Linked DNA regions of Homo sapiens: region 1 is linked to region 2. Evidence: promoter capture Hi-C in 16 types of primary human blood cells and fetal thymus (Javierre and others, 2016). All regions are on one chromosome and are shown on one strand. The core of a region is centred on a gene start or on the middle of the fragment in contact, and the rest is flanking DNA. Distances in the headings are between cores, read along the strand shown.

What was found. Contacts are between HindIII fragments. The CHiCAGO score rates a contact against its expected background, and 5 or more counts as called.
Region 1: a contact is called between a fragment that was not itself captured here and the fragment with the promoter of PLXNA3 in region 2, in 1 of 17 cell types (non-activated CD4 T cells). The highest score is 5.2, in non-activated CD4 T cells.

Annotation. Positions count from the first base shown.
Region 1 is chrX:154,039,328-154,042,027 of GRCh38, forward strand. All of the region lies in intron 1 of MECP2 (methyl-CpG binding protein 2), which reads right to left. Among named protein-coding and RNA genes, the nearest start is that of MIR718, 21 kb to the left of the region's middle. RefSeq lists an enhancer at 1,721-2,221. The HindIII fragment of the contact is 464 bases long and covers 1,026-1,489 here.
Region 2 is chrX:154,456,979-154,459,678 of GRCh38, forward strand. PLXNA3 (plexin A3) reads left to right here and starts at 1,303. Exons shown (of 33, transcript NM_017514.5): 1 at 1,303-1,450. RefSeq lists enhancers at 711-780, 2,206-2,700 and silencers at 871-1,040, 1,171-1,410, 1,651-1,720. The HindIII fragment of the contact is 19,869 bases long and covers 1-2,700 here.

The DNA.
Region 1 (2,700 bases), core at 8-2,507, 420 kb before region 2:
CTTCTAGACCGGGCGCAGTGGCTCATGCCTGTAATCCCAACACCTTAGGAGGCCGAGGTGAGCAGATCACTTGAGGCCAGGAGTTTAAGACCAGCCTGGCCAACATGGCAAAACTCCGCCTCTACTAAAAATACAAAATATTTGCCGGGTGTGGTGGTGTGCGCCTGTGGTCCCAGCTACTCGGGGACTGAGGCATGAGAATCGCTTGAACCTGGGAGGCGGAGGCTGCAGTGAGTTGAGATAGTGCCATTGCACTCCAGACCAGGCGATAGAACAAGATTCCACTTCCCAAAAAAAAAAAAAAAAAGATGGCACTTCTGAGACACCTTCCCTGCTCCTGCCTCCCTCCCTGCTCTATGAGCCAGGGCACCCGAGCCCTCAGTGTACTTAGAACACCCCACTGTGCGTGCCAACCCCCATCTCCCCGCTCAATGCATAATGCCAGGCACAGGTGCAACCCTTACTCAACACATGCTGGATGAATAACCACAACACGGACGCAGCGCTCCACGTGCTTCTTCTGATGGCTGGAGACCTTCGACCGTAAGCTTCTAGCAAGGAGAGGCTAGCTCAGTGCTGAAAAAAAGGTGGGCTCTGAATTGGTGAATAAACAAATGATGAGTTTGGGACATATCAGTAGTCCGTTGGACACTGGTGGCTTGGAGATGGCGGAAGATGAGGTGGAGGAAGTCACTGAGGAGGGCCTCAGTGCCCCAGGGACAGTAGCATGGAGGATGGTTACGCCAGAGGATGGATCGACTTCTAGCCATGTGGTGGTCAGGTATGCAGACACCTCTCCTGCTGAAACAACTACAACTGCCAAACTGAGTATCTTACAGAAGCTGCTAGAGAAGCCACCCACAAGCTGGCAAGAAAGGAAGGAATACACAGGCTGAAGAGCAAATAAAAGTACGGGGCCCTTTTCTGTGGAGAAATCTGGCAGGCACCACCTTAACACACGACCAAACTGAGCTCAGGCCCCTCAGTGCTGCTGAGATGAACCAGCATCACGAGTAGGAGACTGAAGCTTACCGTGAGGAGACAGCAGGAAGAGTCCAGAGAGGGCGTGCCATGCAACCACGGTCTGGACTCAAGATGATGAGAGAAAACAAGGGGGTGGGGGAACATTTCTGATAAAGGAGACTGAAGGGATGACACAATCGAATACAACACACAGTCCTGGACTCTGCATTCCAGGCTCAAAGGCTCTAAAAAAGGCATTTATGGGGTATGTGGAGAAATGTAAGGTTCTGTGTTAGCTCATTGCTAAACTTCCTGAGTGTCTTAACTGTACTGTCTGCTCTTAGGAAAGGCATGCTTAAACGTTTAGGAGTGAAACAGCACGAGGACTATGACTAACTCTCAAGTGATCAATGGGCTAGGGGAAATACAGTGCCAATATGGTAACATGTTTAAAAGAAGGGAGATGACATCAATATAATCAGAAGCTATGCCAACTGACAGTAATATTTTGAAGCAGTGGTAGGCAAGCTTTTTAACAATTAAAGAGAATGCCTTCATATTACACAAAGACATTAAGAAAAAAAGCTGAAGGCTGGGCACGGAGGCTCACACCTGTAATCCCAGCACTTTGGGAGGCTGAGGTGGGCGGATCACGAGGTCAGTTCGAGGCCATCCTGACCAACATGGTGAAACCCCCTCTCTACTAAAAATAAAAAATTAGCCAGGTGTGGTGGCGCGCACAAAGGGACCGGGGCGGTGCTGGCGGCGATGCCAACAGACCTCAGTGTACTGTGGGGTTCTTTCAGCCAGAACTGTTCATGGTTTCATCAGTGAGCTCCAGTTACCACACCACACAAGTTTGGAGTGATCCACCCCGCCCCAGTTTTTCCTGCACGAACTCATGTTTTTATTGTGTGATTTACAGAACACAAGATCTTTTTCTAAGAATGCACACATCACACGTTGAAGCAGAAAGGCCTTTACAAAATCTTAAAATACCTACAAAATATGAAGTAAGGCTCTTAAGAAATAAAATATTCAATGATTTTGCTGCTAGAATGCAAACATTAGATCAAATCCTTCATTTGATCTAGCAAAGGAAAATTAGAGTTGCAGGAATCTTGTTTTCAGGCCAAACCATGACATCCTGAGGGGTCTGATGGCAGGAACTGCCTGCATTTTCCTCATGAATGTGACCTGCAGTGATCTTGTGAGAAAGGCCCGGAAGGCCGTGCAAATTACAGGGGTACAAGCAACAGCTGGCAGGTGTGGCCAGACAGGCAACTGCAGTTAAGGAAAGACTACTCAATCCCTGAGGTTTTCAGATTTTACAAAAAGGCAAAAAAGCCAGGTGAACAAGGCAGATGAAAGGTATTTTTCACTTGAATTGGAATCCAGCCCCCTCCCTGTCCCCTGGAGTGAGCTCCAGAGAAACTTCCAGAGCCCCAGCAATATCCCAACCTTTCGTAAATTCACTCATGCTCGCCACTTTCAGGAGATGGCATTTCTCAGCACCTTTCACTTCCAGTTATCCCTCGGCACAGCACAAAGAGCTAAACTACCACTCGAGGCAGTTAACCTAAGGGCAGGGTGGTGGCTACAGCTCCAGGTGAACAGTCTGGGACCAGAGGAAATAATGAGCCCCCCCTTGTACTGGCTGCTTCCACCCTAAAGTGTCATCCAGATGGTGTTTCCAATTCTTTCTACTTCCAGTATTAGCTGCAGAATTACGGAATC
Region 2 (2,700 bases), core at 53-2,552:
TGTCCGGCTAATTTTTGTATTTTTTGTAGAGATGGGGTTTTGCCATGTTGGCCAGGCTGGTCTCGAACTCCTGACCTCAGGTGATCCGCTCACTTCAGCCTTCCAAAATGCTGGGATTACAGGCTTGAGTCACTGCACCCAGCATATGCCAGTACTTTGGAAGGCTGAGGCAGGAGGATTACTTAAGCCCAGGAGTTCAAGACTAGCCTGGGCAGTGTAGCAAGACCCTGTCTCTCTCTACAAGAATAGGAAAAGTTAGCCAGGCGTGGTGGCACTTGCCTGTGGTCCCAGCTACCTGGGAGGCTGAGGCAGGAGGATCCCTTGAGCCCAGGAAGTCGAGGCTGCAGTGAGCCATGATCCAATGCCGCTACACTGCAGCCTGGGTGATAGAGCGCGACCTCAACTTGGGGGGAAAAATCTGTCTATCTATCTATCTCTCCATATATGTGTTTAATAAAAATGGGCAAATGACTTGAATAGACATTTCTTCAGAGATCATATACAAAAGGCCAGCAAGCACATGAAAAGATGCTGAACACCATTAGTCATCAGGGAAATGAAAAAGAAAACCTTAACGGGGCGCGGTGGCTCACACCTGTAGTCCCAGCACTTTGGGAGGCTGAGGCGGGAGCATCGTTTGAGCCTGGGGCGGTCGAGGCTGCAGTGAGCTATGATCTCACCACTGCACTCCAGCCCGGGTGACAGAGCGAGACCCTGTGTCAAAAGAAAACAAAAAAAGAAAAGGAAAAAGAAAGCAAGGGAAGGAAGAAAGCCCTCGGTTCAGGGTCGCCGGGGAAGGGGCTGGTTTGGACGGCTGTCCCGCAGGCCCTCCGGGTTAGAGACCGTCGGGGGCGTGTCTTGAGCTGGGGACGCGACTCCTCGGCGGGGGTGCACCTGAGAGGCCGGGACCAGCGAGGCCGCGCCCCGGTGGCAGGTGACCCCGGGCGCGTCTCCGAGCGCCAGGGTGGGGCGAGGCGGACGCGCGCCCCAGGCCCGAGGGGGTGTGGCGCGGGCGCGCGCGGGTTCCGGGGTCGCCCGAGGCGGCGGGCGGGGAGCCGGGGCGCGGGGGAGGCGCGCGCCGCGGACGCGGCCATCGAGCGAAGGGGGTCGGCTGGCCGGGCGGGTCCCCCTTCAGGTCGCGGGGGTCAGGGCTGCGCGCGAGGTCCCTGGCCCCGGGGAGCAGCGGCCCCGCCTGCGTCCCCTGCCGCCGCGTCCCCCTCGGCCGGGCGTCCCCGGACGCCCCCGCCCCGCGCGGTGGTACGGTCCGGGTTTAAAAGGCTCCGGCGGCCCCCGGGCCAGCCCAGTGTGTGGGCGGCGGCGGCGGCGGCTGCGCGCTTGGGGCCCGGGGCGCGGGGCGAGGCCGTGGGGACGTGCGAGCGGGGCCGCGGTGGGGCTCGGGGGCGCGTCCACGTGGCCAGAGGGCGGCCACCCGGAGCCAGCGGAGGGACAGGTAGGTGGCCGTCATCGTCGCCGTCCGTGCGGGGCCAAACAGCTCGGGGCCCGGGGCTCCGGCAGCCCGGGGGTCCGGCTCGGCCTGTGGGGGTCAGGCCCTATCCCTGCCCGTCGGCGCCGGCCTGCCCGACTCCTTGTGCCCCGCATGGTGGGGACGCCAACCCAAGACCAACACCCTGCCCAAAGAGGACCCTTTGTCGCAGGGGAGCGGCCCCTCGGAGGATCAACGCTGTACTTCCCTCCCGCTAAGGGCTCCGCGAGTCCGCCGAGGGGTGCCCTGATGGGGCCCGGGCAAACCGGACCAGCAGCACGGTGGGGGGTGTGGGGGGCGGCCGCTGGACCCCCGTCTCTGCGTGGGGCTGCCCCTTCCTCAGGCTCTCTGCTGGCCCAGCTGTACCTGTGATGCCCGAGGTTGCCACTTACAGGTGGGGGCTGGGCCTGAAACTGCCTCCCCAGGTCTCCCTCCCGACCTGTCCCCAGCCTGTTCCTAGGCTTGTGTTCCCGGGGTGTAGAGGAGGTGAAGACAGGATGTGGCCTCTCTTTTCTTTGGCCTTCCTTTCTTCTCCGGCTGTTGCATGAGGGGTCCAGCTGACAAAAGAGCCCTGGAGAGGTGATCAATCTGAGCTGAAACTTTGCAGTTTCAAGCTGGGCCCGCTGCTTGTTCCTGGCAAATGCCTTATTTTTCCTTTCTCTCTCCTGTGCCTCCTTGGTTTGGTTCCCTGCACCACCCCCCGCTCCCCCCCCGCCTCCCGCCCTCAAGCTGGGTACCTCCTATCTCCCCCGGGAGCTCTGGCACTGAGAGGGTAGCGCTGAGCCCTGCCCTGTTGGCTGCCACGACACTGCTCTGCTGTCTTAGCAGCCTGGGGCTGACTGGGTGTGGCCTGGGGACTAAGTGCCAGTCCCAGCACTGTCCCTGTGGCTCCTGCCCTGTCTCTCCAAGGCCTTGACTGTATTTGGGGACATTGCTCCTCCTCTTGTAAGGCTCCTGGGACTCCAAAGGGCAGGTAGGGCCCCCTGTACATTCCCTTCTCCAGTGAACCCCTGGGTCTGGAGGGGGAGCCATGCAGGCTGTGGCTGAGCAGAGCTTGACTGATGTGTGTCTGGGTGCGTGGCTGAGGGGCAGGCGCGACTTGGCTTTGTGTTGCATCGGGGAGGCCAGACAGCGGGCTCCTGGATGGCCAGCTGAGGCCCTTGTCGGGGAGGCAGCTGGGGCCCCTGCAGGGGACATGGTGGTGCTGGATCCTGCAT